Regions from separate parts of the Homo sapiens genome. Here regions 1 and 3 are each linked to region 2. The links are contacts of gene promoters, found by promoter capture Hi-C in human tissues and cell types (Jung and others, 2019). All regions are on one chromosome and are shown on one strand. The core of a region is centred on a gene start or on the middle of the fragment in contact, and the rest is flanking DNA. Distances in the headings are between cores, read along the strand shown. Region 1 overlaps FAM221B (family with sequence similarity 221 member B). Region 2 holds the start of OR2S2 (olfactory receptor family 2 subfamily S member 2). Region 3 holds the start of GLIPR2 (GLI pathogenesis related 2).

Region 1 (4,500 bases), core at 2,001-4,500, 140 kb after region 2:
CGCCCACCTGCATTGTGACTGCCTATACCTTGCTCTCTCAACAAAGCCTCCCTGGTGTAAGGGGGCACTGGCACTACAGGCAATCAGCATCAAGACAGAAGAAGCAAAGCCAAAAGCCACATCTAGACAGGCTTTAGATCCTGACAGACTATGGGTAAGACAAGAAAACTTAATCTGAGGCACGGAATTGTGAATTGTGGCCCTGACCACAGTCAAAGACCAGATGATGCCACTCTCCTTATTCATGTTATGGAACCTCAGGGTTATGCCTGAATACTGGCTCTCTCTTCCTCTTGAAGGAATGAGCTCAATTGTTTAATCAGGCAATCTACGTTCTCTCAGCAACCATTTTGTGCCAGGCCTTGTGCTAGGATGAGAGATACGGGTGAAAAGACAGCTCCCTTGAAGAACTCATGGACTAATAGGAATACAAGGGAATGATCTATTATAATGCAGTGTACTGCAACAGGAGTAGCACAAGGAGCTATGGATGGCAATAGGAGGGGCCCAGACAGACAGGGGAAGTCAGGGACACCTTTTTGGTGGAGGTGACATTTCAGTTGAGCCTTTAATTGGGACTAAGAATCCTACACCTGGCAGTCCCACTGCATGGGGCCTCATACAGGATTCTTGGCTAGAAGTTGGGGTACTCTCAGTTCTCATGGAGAATGAGAAAATCTGAATTGGAGGTGCCATCTGGTTATCCTCCCTCAGTTGCACAGCACCACCCTCACCTCAAGACTAGTCACGAAGCCAGGGATTCAGACCTCACTGCTGAACACCAGCTCTCGAGGGTTGTGACCTCTTGCTGGTGCCTACTCTCAGGGACACTTCTTAGCCTCACTTTCCTTTCCACGCCTCCTTGCTTAGCCTCAAAATATATAATTTTTGGTCTTCACCACTCATGACTGCTACCTACCCCTTTCTCCTGACCCTTGAAGAACCTTTGGCAGCCCTTCTTAGGTACACAGAGAGCATTGGTACAATAGCACCAGGAACACAGAGGGAGGTATTAAGGTACCAACGTGGAGACGTGAGAGGAAGCCCTCCTCCTACCTTCCAGCACCAGAGCTATCCAACCTCCTTCTCCTCTTCAGGACCTTCAATAAATATGCTCCTTAGGAGCCAATCCCATTGTCTGTACATCTGGCCAATCATCTTCCCTTTCCCTCACCTTAGACACTTCAAGAAAACAAAGCAAAGTTGGGCTTTAGTGGGATGAGGAGAGGAGATGAGAATCCCTGTGGTCACAGAGAACTCAGTGAGATTCATGTTCATCCTCAAACAAAATTTCATCTATAATCTTCCTGCTCAGAAACCACTCTCTTGAGTCATCTCTGGCAGGCTGACAAAGATGGAGTAGATCCTGGGTAGGAAGAGAACTGAAGACACTTCTGGGGTAATGAGAAAACCCTGAGGAAAAAGAAAATCTAAGGGGTAGAGGTGAGGACTTCCAGGTGGAGATAAAGATACCTGGGGGTGGGGAGAGGTAAGTTCCCCCCACCCCCTCACCTCCATCAAGGGATAGGTAAGAACACTTCGGGGGAGCTTAGAATTTTTTTACTTCTCACTTTTAATCCTGCATACCTAGGTCTCTACATTGGCTGGCGCTGCCCCCATTACCTATGGGACTGTTTCCGGATTGGGGATGAGTCCAGATGCTTTTGTGGACACTTGTTGAGAGAGCACCGGATCATCTCAGGTAGGGGAGAACTGACCAGCCCCTCTCGAGTGTGGAGGAATAACTGTACTCTGTCATGTCTTGGGAAGTATGAGAGAGAGCATGTGGCTGGGCACGGTGGCTCACCCCTGTAATCCCAGCACTTTGGGAGGCGGAGGCGGGTGGATCAAAGGTCAGGAGATCGAGACCATCCTGGCTAACACAGTGAAACACCGTCTCTACTAAAAAATAAATAAATAAATACAAAAAATTTAGCCAGGCATGGTGGCACGCACCTGTAGTCCCAGCTACTCAGGAGGCTGAGGCAGGAGAGTCACTTGAAGCCAGGAGGCGGAAGTTGCAGTGAACTGAGATCATGCCACTGCACTCCAGCCTGGGCGACAGAGCAAAACTCCATCTCAAAAAAAAAAAAAGCATGTCTGCGTGCATAGGGGGTGGTGGGGATGGAGGATGGGGTTGGCATGAGAAGGCAAGGTCCTATCAGATTAACCCTACCATCCATCCCCAATCCCACAGACATATCGGTGCCCTGCAAGGTAAGCCAGTGCCGCTGCTTCATGTTCTGCTTTATCCCATCACGCCCAGAGGAGGTGGGTGAGTTCTGGCTCAAGAGACGGGCCACCTTTGACCCCAAGGCCTGGAGGGCCCAATGTCGCTGCAAACACAGCCACGAAGAACATGCAGCCACTGGGCCCCATCCCTGCAGGCATCATGGTAACTTCTAGGGCAAGAGGTGTATTGGGAGCAGGGTAGGTGGGGATAGGATGCAATCTGGGGATAATGATGGAGAGCAGGTATGAGAGCCTTGGGCATGCGGTCACTGAGGAAGAGATGAGAATGTGGTCAGCTCCTGGGGATACCACCATTTCCTAAACTCTTCTTGGCTGCACTTTTGCCCCAGGCTGTTGCTGCGGCTGTTTTGAGTCTAATTTCCTCTGTGCGGCCTGTGACCGGCGCTGGGAGGAACACGAGACTTTCTTTGACACCCAGAAGACCCGGCAACGAGGAGGAAGGCCTCGCGGTGAGGCAGAAACCTGGGACAGGGGGCCATTCCAGGGTCTGTAGTCAGAAGGCCAGGCAGGAAGGCACTCCCATCCTCAACCATCCCTTCCAGGACTAGCGCGCTCCCTCAGCCCACCTCCCCACCACCCACCTACCTGCATCCCACATCTGCACTGGTTTTCACCCCCAGGAGCAGACTATGTACCTTTTGCAGAGATGGCTGTGCTCCGAGAAGCCATCCTCAGCAACTCTGACTTCTAGGCCCTGCAGATACAGGGGCCCTCTGGCCTTCCCAGCTCCCACCCTAGTCCCCCGGGGCTCCCTGGTTCACACGGTCTCCAGCCTGGCCTCCCTTCTGACCCCCATACCTGACCCTTTCACCTCTGCTCTTTCTTCCTCCAGGGACAGACACTGTCAGCAACTGGCACAGGCCTTTGTGAGTCTGGCCCAGATCAGCAATAAAAGAGGAGTCATTGGAACCTGACTTGGCTCTATATGGGGCAGGTAGATCCCAGCCCAGGGAGAGACTGCCTAATAACTTAGAGTTGACACCTATTAGACACAGGAGAAAGCCTGGATCTGGCCATCTGCCTCCATCACACTCACATTCAAGCTGCCTGTTGAAGGAAAGTGGCTTCAAGGAAGTCAAGAAGGGAGGAAGTTTCAAGAAGGATAGAGTGGGAAGTGATGTTAGATGCAGTTGGGGCACCAATAAGATAAAGACTGAAAAGTGTCCATTGGGTTTTGCAATTAGAAGATCTTTGGGAACATCGGAGAGTGCAGTTTCACACTGGTGCAGTGGAGGCAGGAGTCAAACAGCAGTGAGTTTCAAGGAGTCTCTTAAAGAAGCTTGGATGAAAAGTACAAAAGTAAAGTCAGACAATATCCAGAGGGAGTTGTGGAGTCAAGGAAGTACTTTTGTAGGAAGGAAAAGGGGAAGAGGCCAGTAGACTAAAGGACCTTGAAGGACCCAGAAGAGAGAGAAGAGATGCCTGGTGAGACAAGATCCCAGAGATGGAGGAAAGGGATGAGGTCAAAGCAGAGGTGAAGGGATTTTCTCTGGACAGGAGAAACACCACTTCCTATGACCAAGACGAAGGAAGAGGATGGAGCCTTCCTAGAGTTTCAGGGAACAAGAACCTGTGGAAGTTCCCCTCTGATGGCTTCTATATGCCCTGTGAAGTAGGAGATAAGGCCAATGGCTGGGGTCCAGGGGAAGAGGGATAAGAGTAGGGAGCAGGAGACAAGAAGAGAAAGGGGAAGGTTTGGGAAGGCTAATGTAGGGAACTGGAGAAAAACCTCATCAGTGGGTAGTTCAGGATTCGGGCACAGTTGGAAGTGAGAACCTAGTTAGAGAAGCAGAGAATCCAAATATTTAATGGGTTGATGATGTGAGGGTGTCAGGGAGGAAGATCAGGAAAACTAAGCAAAAGAAGGCATGAGGATGTGAAGGGAGCATACAGCACCAATAGGGAAAGAAAGTGATGCCAGGAGGCAAATGACAGATTGAAAAAGGGAGCAGTCAAAGGAAGAGAAGTCTCTAATGAGGTACAGTAGCAGACGTAGGGGCAGGGGTTGGAGTACAAGAGACAGTGTTCAGAGGCTGCAGAGCATAACATCTTTCAGATGAGGGCAAGTGAAGGTGATAAGTGCTTGAAGTAGAGAAAACTGTGGGCCAAGGATCAAAATCAGTGAATGTGGGAAGTCACAAGGGAGTCCATAGGTTCTTATGGGAGTAGGAGATTCCAGCACTAATGGGCTCTGTGAACCCAGGCAAGTCACTGTCCCTCTTTAGGCTGAGTTTCTGGACCTGTAAA
Region 2 (4,661 bases), core at 1,636-4,135:
GCCCAAAGCTTCCCCTCTTCCCCTTGCTCTCCCTAGCTGCCTCCCACCTCCCCGCTTCTCTCCCTCCTCTTATGGGGCTGCAGGTGCCAGACCTCTTTGTTTGCTTTCATTCTGAATCCCTTCCAAAACCTGACATAGCTCTACTAACTGTTGAATGTTTCTTGATGGACAACCAGGAATTCAGATCTCCCCTTCACACAGACACACACACACACACACACACACACACACCCCTCACATTCATCAGTGTGGGCAGCCACCTTCATCAAGGACCGCTCCCTGCTTGCAGAGGTCAGCACTGGAGGGTCCACGACAACCCTCAGAGCTGGGATGCCCTGGGAAGCAATTATTCAGCCTTCTCATGGAGCACATGGGGAAACTGAGGCCTAGGGGGGAGAAGAGACTTACTCCAGCTTGATGGAATATCCATCACCCAGGCAGGGGTAGTTCCACTAGCTCTGATCTCAGAGTGCAGAGTCTTCCCAGCTGTACAGTTCATTTCAATTAAACAAATGTACTCAGCAACTTTTCATAACAGACAGAGGCTTCCACAGAGGCAGCTCTCAAGGAGGCCAAATCCCACGCATCATTCATGCCCACAGGATGTTATTCATGGATAGAAACTTCTGTGTGCATAGATTTATCTTGTGGGAATGCGCAGTGTGGCTTCCCTAACAGAAATCACTTTCCTTGGCCTCTGCAACCACAGCATCTGCTTGAATCTGGTTTGTGGCACTGAATATAATGTTTGCTTTTCTTCATTTTCTGGAGTGGGTGAGAGGTGCACTAGGAGGAACAGGAGATAAGCTGGGGTGGAAGTTCAGGGTGGGGCACTCAGAGGGGGTCAGCTTGCACTGAGCAACCAGGAACACCCTTCTGTGCTGTATGAAGGGATGGGAAGAGGGGAATAGGATTGCACAGGAAATACCTTGAGACCCATGGTTGTGTAATGGGGGAAGCTTCTCCTGGGTTAGACCAATCGTTCTCTTCTGGGTATAATTTTGCACCGTCCCCCCCGCCAACCCCCCCCCCCCCGCCCCAACACACACACCTTTCCCCTGGAAGCATGTGGCAGCGTCTGGAAACATTTTGATTGTTACAACTCAGGGTAGAAGGTGCTATTGGCAACTGATTGGTGGAGGTCAGAGACTCTGCTAAACATCCTACAATGCACAGGACAGCCCTCACACCAAAGGGTTATCCAGCACAAAATGTCAATCGTAAAGAATTTGAGAAACCCTGAGTTCCATTTAGGGTGGGAGGTGCACTGCCTGACAACACATCTGACATAAACCCTCCCCCATGACTGAAGAGAGAGTGTTGGACAGACAGTGAGACTGGCCAGAGAATACACAGAGCTAATTGAGATCATAACAGTGTGTACAAGTTTGACTTTGTCCTTTTAATTTATCATTATGCTATAGCAATATTAGCACAGAGAAAATTATAAATAGGACTATAAGATCTGTCTAATATTGGAGGGACAGAATCTTTTGCAAAGCTGTGCACCAAAAGAGAAAAGCAGCTGTTTCGTGAAAGAACTCAGGACTAGGTCTTGGAATCCAACTCCAGCTCTGCCATTCAACCCCAAGGAGCAAATTTATCTTCTGAGCTCCAGTTACTTCACCTGTAAAACCTGAATGATAATATCTTCTCCATGAGCTGTTTCAAGAAATATGGCACAGCTTATATTCCTTAATATTAGTGAGAATCCCTAATATTCTCACTAATATTAATATTAACCACTCATCTTCCATCATCCACCCACTCTTATACACACTCATAGAGCCACTGTCATTAAGAAGGAGCTATCAAAATATTATCTATGAGTACTTTGAATTTAGAGTCAGGGAAATTGCAAGTAAGAGACTAGATATCCTCTATACAAAGGCATATAAGTCTTCCTATAAGCCAGCTGCTTGCATAGAACTCAAGAATGGAGTCAGAGAGTCAGAAGATAATGCAAGAATAAAATGCAAACATAAAAGGACAAAGAAAAAACATTCTTAGTCATTCACGGTTAGGAATTTCACAGACATCCTAATGAGATGGGATCAGAAGTTAATGCCATATACTCTACTATCGATAACTATAGTTAGAGTGTGGTTATTAATATTGCATTAACTAACTGGTAAGCTACACAGTGTTGTCTCATGGTGTGAGTTCAGTCACTCCAACAAATCCATTTGTTGGCTTCATAAATTTCCCAGCTATAGGACCTCCCCATATATTGCAATAAATCCATATTTCAAATAGGCAGATCTATTCCTGTCAATGCTCAAGCCTGTGTCACTAGACTGAAGAAGTAATGCTCTTTATGGCTGAATATTAACTAGGCTTGTTTCTGTGTGAATATGGTTGAACAATTTTGCGCAATTTCCTCCCCACGTGTAATCAAAGTTTAAAGAAACTTAATCACTTGCTAGGTCCAAGAATTGCATCTTCTTGGGAATTTTCCTCTCTGAGAATCTAAGAAAGCCCAGATCAAATGAAATTGCTGTGGATTTGCATTAAAGAGAAATAATTCATAGCATTTCCTAGCACTTAATCACAATGAAGAGGAAAAGCCCTCCTTGGGCCAGGGATATGCTCTGCTGGGTTCAAGTCTTGTCTCTGTCACCAACTTGCTCAGAAGATTTGGACAGGTCACTTCTCCTCCCCAGGCCTCTATCACCTTTGTGGACACTGAGAGGGTGCAGCAACTTCAGAAAAATCCCTCATGCACAACCGGACATTTGAGGCCCTCACCCACTACCTGTCCAGCTCTGACCTTCTGTCTTCTAAGACACCCCCTACTGTCTCTTTCCGTCATTTTTCTCTTGCACAGATATGTTCTTCTATTATGCAATGGGAACTTGACCACATATTAGATGCCTAGGACTCTTCCCAAAAAGCCTGATGCGCTGCTCAGTACTTTGCTGATGGCAGAGGGGATATCACATGGAAAAAGCCAATGAGACCTCCCCTGTGATGGGGTTCGTTCTCCTGAGGCTCTCTGCCCACCCAGAGCTGGAAAAGACATTCTTCGTGCTCATCCTGCTGATGTACCTCGTGATCCTGCTGGGCAATGGGGTCCTCATCCTGGTGACCATCCTTGACTCCCGCCTGCACACGCCCATGTACTTCTTCCTAGGGAACCTCTCCTTCCTGGACATCTGCTTCACTACCTCCTCAGTCCCACTGGTCCTGGACAGCTTTTTGACTCCCCAGGAAACCATCTCCTTCTCAGCCTGTGCTGTGCAGATGGCACTCTCCTTTGCCATGGCAGGAACAGAGTGCTTGCTCCTGAGCATGATGGCATTTGATCGCTATGTGGCCATCTGCAACCCCCTTAGGTACTCCGTGATCATGAGCAAGGCTGCCTACATGCCCATGGCTGCCAGCTCCTGGGCTATTGGTGGTGCTGCTTCCGTGGTACACACATCCTTGGCAATTCAGCTGCCCTTCTGTGGAGACAATGTCATCAACCACTTCACCTGTGAGATTCTGGCTGTTCTAAAGTTGGCCTGTGCTGACATTTCCATCAATGTGATCAGCATGGAGGTGACGAATGTGATCTTCCTAGGAGTCCCGGTTCTGTTCATCTCTTTCTCCTATGTCTTCATCATCACCACCATCCTGAGGATCCCCTCAGCTGAGGGGAGGAAAAAGGTCTTCTCCACCTGCTCTGCCCACCTCACCGTGGTGATCGTCTTCTACGGGACCTTATTCTTCATGTATGGGAAGCCTAAGTCTAAGGACTCCATGGGAGCAGACAAAGAGGATCTTTCAGACAAACTCATCCCCCTTTTCTATGGGGTGGTGACCCCGATGCTCAACCCCATCATCTATAGCCTGAGGAACAAGGATGTGAAGGCTGCTGTGAGGAGACTGCTGAGACCAAAAGGCTTCACTCAGTGATGGTGGAAGGGTCCTCTGTGATTGTCACCCACATGGAAGTAAGGAATCACAATCACATCAGCTGCCATTCAAAAGCCAAGTCATGTGACCTATAATGGTTTCTCACTCTAAGTCCATTTGCAGGAGATATTAAACTTTTCAGACGATATCTCCTGAGTTTTAGTCCTATGTCTGACAGCTTCAACAGACACCAGACTCAATAAATAATCAACTGTGATGAAGGCATTCTGAACATACGGTAAAACCACACGAGACAGCAGCCATGAAAGCATGACGCATGGCCCTTAGAGTGTCTCAGCTCTAGAGTTAGAACAGGGACGTGAGAATGTTCTCACAGCAACTTACCAGCCCTACTGGATTCACCAGGGAAATCAGAGAAATAAGGAGGGAGTGGAAACTTTTACTGAGGCTTCAGTTTATTACACTCAGTTTGCCTGAATGGCTAAGAAAAGGTAAGTTCTTCACTTAGGGAGCTTTTAGTTGTGAATAATCTATTTTGATGACTGAATATCTTTTTAGCTATGAGAAAATTTAGGCTATTTTTTCCTGATGCACTGCAGATCATTGAACACCACCTAGTAAATTAAATAAAATTCAAGGAGTAATGAGTTCAAATTTGACGTTCTTACAGAATTTCACAACAGCAAAGCTTGTATTCTGATAGATGCCAAATCATGTTCTAGAAAAAAGATGATGGTAGATAGATATAGATAGAAGTAGACAGATGGTGGCTACACATGTTTGAAGACTTTGGGTCTAAT
Region 3 (4,158 bases), core at 266-2,765, 180 kb before region 2:
GTCTCAGAAAGAAAGAAAAAAAAAAAGTAGCCTAAGGGAATTTGTGGATTTTCTCCACAAATTTCTACAGAGAAAGGAGTTGATTTCCCAAGCAGATATCTCGAAAGACTCGCTCTCATCTGCCATACTTTTGCTCCATCACCATCTGTCATCCTGTTAACTAAATGGCAACCCATTATATCACCTTTCCATACTGTGAAGAACCCCAGGGCTCATACGGCCACCCTCATTGTACAGACAGGGAGGAACAGAGGGAAGGAGGCTTGCTCAGTATCACACAGCCAGTGATTGGCTGGGCCAGGGCTGAAAGCCAGACCTGCCTCTACAGCCTAGGAAGGCTGGTTAGGACCAAGGCCAGGGAAAGCCACTTGCGCCCAGCGCTGGCATCTCCTGAGTCCAGATCTTGGAGGACAGATCCTAGAAGGGACCTAGCCTTACTCATCTGAAGTGGACAATCCGGATGAAGCAGGACTTCTGAATCCTGTTCAACAGCTGTTCTCTAAGAGCCTCCTGTGAGGCAGAAGCAATGCTGAGATAAACACGGCCCCTGGCAGCCAGGGGTGAGGACCCGGTGGGAAACAGGTCTATGGCTGAACTCTTGTCCCCGGCCCACTACAGGAAGGGCTGCAGCGAGGAAAACACCAGGTTGGGCGCTCCCTCCCGGGGGGAATCACAGATGGGCTCCAGCCCAGGAGCTGAGCCTAGAGGGATGGGATTTTCAGGCTGAGAGTTGGGGTGGTGAAGGCCCGGCAAGGAAACCTAGGGGAAGGGACCTGTGCACCAGCTTCTGGACAGCTCTAGTGTAGGGCGGAGGTAAGGGCTAGGGACCCACTCCCAGGGGCCCGAAGGCAGGACTGGAGTGTGTCCTTTCACTCTGAGGACAATGGTGAGGAAGGTGTTAGGGAGCGACAGGAGGAGAGCTGCGCTGCAGAAAGTTCATCCCGACAGCCACAGTAGAGAGGATGGGGTGCCCCAGGAGAAAGGGAGCCAGACCGAGCCTAGCACAGGGGGAGCCCGGCACGGCGCGGGCGCTCAGGAGAGAAGGAACAACAAATGGATGAGGGGGATGCTCAGGGCTGTCCTCGGGACAGCCGAGCGGGGCAAACTGCTTCGCAGCGAGAGCTGTTGTCACACTTTGGTGACTTTTCCAACTCTAAGTCTGGCCTCCTGAAACAAAGCAGAAGCCACGCCTTGGCGGGCCGCGGCGCGCAGCCCCTCAGGGTCGGGAAGCCCAACTTGGCGCGATCCCCGGCTCTCCGGCGGGGGCCTCCCTCGGGCTCGCCTTCCCCCCGGGTTCCCCGGAAACCGCGCCGGGGCGCTCCGCCCGCGCGCCCTCCACCCGCACCCCGGGCTCCCGCACTCCCCAGGACCTGGCTTGCGGCGGACGAGGGAGACGGCGAGGTCCGGGAGCGCGGGGTTCCGAACCATTCCGCAGCGGGCGAGCCCGCGGGCTCACCTGACTTGCCCATGGCCGGCTCCGCGCGCTCCTCGCTCCCCGCGGCTGCGCTGCACTGCGCTCGCCCGGCCCAGCGCCGCCCCAGAGCCCAGGACCGGGCTGATGCCGCGGCCCCTCCTCCGGCGCCGCCCGGCCCCCGCCTTATAAGGAGCGACAGCTGAGGGCGGAGGCGCCCGGGGCCACCCCGTGGGCCTCCCGGAGAGCTCACCCCTGGGAAGCAGCTCCGCGACTGCCGAGGGCTCCCCGGATGCGGCCGCGGGGCTCAAGCCTCCCGGACCCCACACCGAGCTGTCCCTTCCCGGGGCGCGTGGGGAAGCCCGCGCCTGCTGGGCCCCGGGTGGCTGCTCTGCGCCGACGCGCGGCGAGGACAGAGGGGCGCGCGGTCGCGGCACGAGGGGCGTTCCGGCCGGCGCCACCAGGGGACGGCCTCTCCCTGCCGCGGCCTGACACGACACACGCAGCCCCGGGGTGTGCCCCCATCTCCGGTGACTCTGGGCTCCGGAGGGCGGCTGGTCCGGGGAGGGGGATGCTCCTCTCCTAGGACACGCCCTCTAATGCCAGTCGGGGTGGAAGCGCCGCCGCCTCTGACCCGTCCACTCGCCCCTCATTGCCTCCCAGACCAAGCCAATTCCCACCCCTGCAGTCTGGCCCCAGACCTGTCTCCCCAACGCCCCACCTTTTCCCCATACTCCAGTCAAACTAGATGTCTTGTCATTCCCCAAACATGTTCTGGGATTTCCCACCTCCCTGCCTTTCCTCAGGCGGTCCCTCCTCCGGGAGTGCTGGCCCTGGAGCCACCATTCCAGTGCTGCCCATCCCTCGGGGTCGGCCGGTCTTTCCAACTGCCAGGTGCCCTGACCCTGGGAGCAGCACACACCAGGTACTGGGGAGATGTGGTCCCACCCATGGCCCCTGCCCCGTGGGAGAAGTGCACTTACTTGACCGCACAGCCCTAGTCACCTGTGCCAGACTTCCCGCAAGCGCTCCTTTCTGGGGAAGGGGCTCAGTACACCCCAAATGAAGGAAGCGAATTTTAAGGCTTTTCAATGAATGGGCACTGAAGTGAGCTGACCCACTGATGATAAGGCTAGAATTTGTAATACCAACGGCTTACGAATGTCCCGCAGGGCGATGGCTGGGCACTGTGCTCTCTATTCCTTTCCCCATGTCAGGCAAATACACCTACTGTATTTTAGTACCGTCATGAGTAATGACATTTCAGTCAATGCCAGACCACATATACTGTGGTAGTCCCAAGAGATTATGATACCATATTTTTACTATGTTTCTATGTTTACATCTGTTTATATATGCAAATTTTTACCATTGTGTTACAGTCACCTAAAGTATTCAGTATGGGTCAAATTGGTGCCCAACCCTGATTCAAAAGGGACTCCTGGGGCTGGGTGCGGTGGCTCACGCCTGTAATCCCAGCACTTCAGGAGGCGGAGGTGGGAGGATTCTTGAGCCCAGGAGTTCAAGACCAGCCTGAGGCAATATAGTGAGACCCCCCCTCCCATCTCTATAAACAAACAAAAGGGACTCCTGGTGCTAGGTGGGGATCTAACCCCCTCTATTCAATTCCCTCTCCCATTTTGTCAACAAATGCCTATTGAAATAATCAAATAAACACAGTAGGAAGAATTCCATGTTGCCCCTAGAATCTCTAGAAGGCTGTATTTCACATAACAAAAACTTTAAGGCCGTGGGTGGAGACAGTGAGGCTCAGCGGGCTGCTCACTGCACGCAGAGGGAAGCCCATCTGGGACCACCATGTTTCACTGACACCTTGAGGTCTGAGGACTGGAGGTGAGAGGGGCTGAGAGTGGATGCATTTCCTAACTTAGAAATTCATAACCTTAGCAGCAGGCACATGAAGGAACAGGGTGCTGAATGGAGGGTGTTAGGGCAGTGCCAAAGTCAACCCCGACCAAGGGCCGTGGGCTAGTTGGAGAGGGAGTCGCTGTCCAGGCATCAGACACAAGAGACAAATGGCCACAAAGGTCAGACACAAAGAAGAGTGATTGACCCAATGTATTGTCTTTGTGTGTGTGTGTGTGTGTGTGTGTGTGTGTGTTTTGAGACAGTCTCGCTCTGTCTCATAGGCTGGGGTGCAGTGGTGCGATCTCGGATCACTGCAACCTCCACCTCCTGGGTTCAAGCAATTCTCCTGCCTCAGCCTCCCAAGTAGCTGGGATTACAGGCATGTGCCGCCATGCCCAGCTAATTTTTTGTATTTTTAGTAGAGACGGGGTTTCACCATATTGGCCAGGCTGGCCTTGAACTCAAGTGATCTACCCACGTTGGCCTCCCAAAGTGTTGGGATTAGAGGCGTGAGCCACCCCGCCCAGCCACCACTACTCCATCTTTTAACTTTTAACCGTTTCTTTATATTTAAAATAGACATCTTATAGTTGACAAGATGCAGTTAGGTCTTTTTTTTAAATCCTGTCTGACAATATCTGCCTTTTAATTTGTATTAATACCATTCATACTTGATAACATTATTTTCTTTTTTCTTTTTGAGATGCAGTCTCCCTCTGTTGCCCAGGCTGGAGTACAGTGTCTTGATCTTGGCTCACTGCAACCTCCACCTCCCAGGTTCAAGCAATTCTGCTGCCTCAGTGCCCTCCCCTTGACCCCAGTAGCTGGGATTACAGGCATGTGCCACCACATCCAGCTAATTTTTGTGTTTTTAGTAG

What was found. The method cuts DNA at HindIII sites, captures the fragments that hold promoters and counts their contacts. A contact is called where the count stands out against the background at its distance.
Region 1: a contact is called between a fragment that was not itself captured here and the fragment with the promoter of OR2S2 in region 2, in 1 of the 25 tissues and cell types used here (mesenchymal stem cells).
Region 3: a contact is called between the fragment with the promoter of GLIPR2 here and the fragment with the promoter of OR2S2 in region 2, in 1 of the 25 tissues and cell types used here (IMR-90 fibroblasts).

The regions. Positions count from the first base shown.
Region 1 is chr9:35,817,092-35,821,591 of GRCh38, reverse strand. FAM221B (family with sequence similarity 221 member B) reads left to right here. Exons shown (of 7, transcript NM_001012446.4): 4 at 1,592-1,702; 5 at 2,198-2,395; 6 at 2,583-2,702; 7 at 3,086-4,500. The coding sequence ends at 3,123. Among named protein-coding and RNA genes, the nearest start is that of HINT2, 4.3 kb to the right of the region's middle. The HindIII fragment of the contact is 5,842 bases long and covers 330-4,500 here.
Region 2 is chr9:35,956,378-35,961,038 of GRCh38, reverse strand. It overlaps OR2S2 (olfactory receptor family 2 subfamily S member 2), which reads left to right and starts at 2,885. Exons shown (of 1, transcript NM_019897.2): 1 at 2,885-3,931. The coding sequence starts at 2,941. The coding sequence ends at 3,900. The HindIII fragment of the contact is 4,346 bases long and covers 485-4,661 here.
Region 3 is chr9:36,134,090-36,138,247 of GRCh38, reverse strand. GLIPR2 (GLI pathogenesis related 2) reads right to left here and starts at 1,515. Exons shown (of 5, transcript NM_022343.4): 1 at 1,457-1,515. The coding sequence starts at 1,469. RefSeq lists silencers at 1,214-1,263, 1,294-1,863. The HindIII fragment of the contact is 26,005 bases long and covers 1-4,158 here.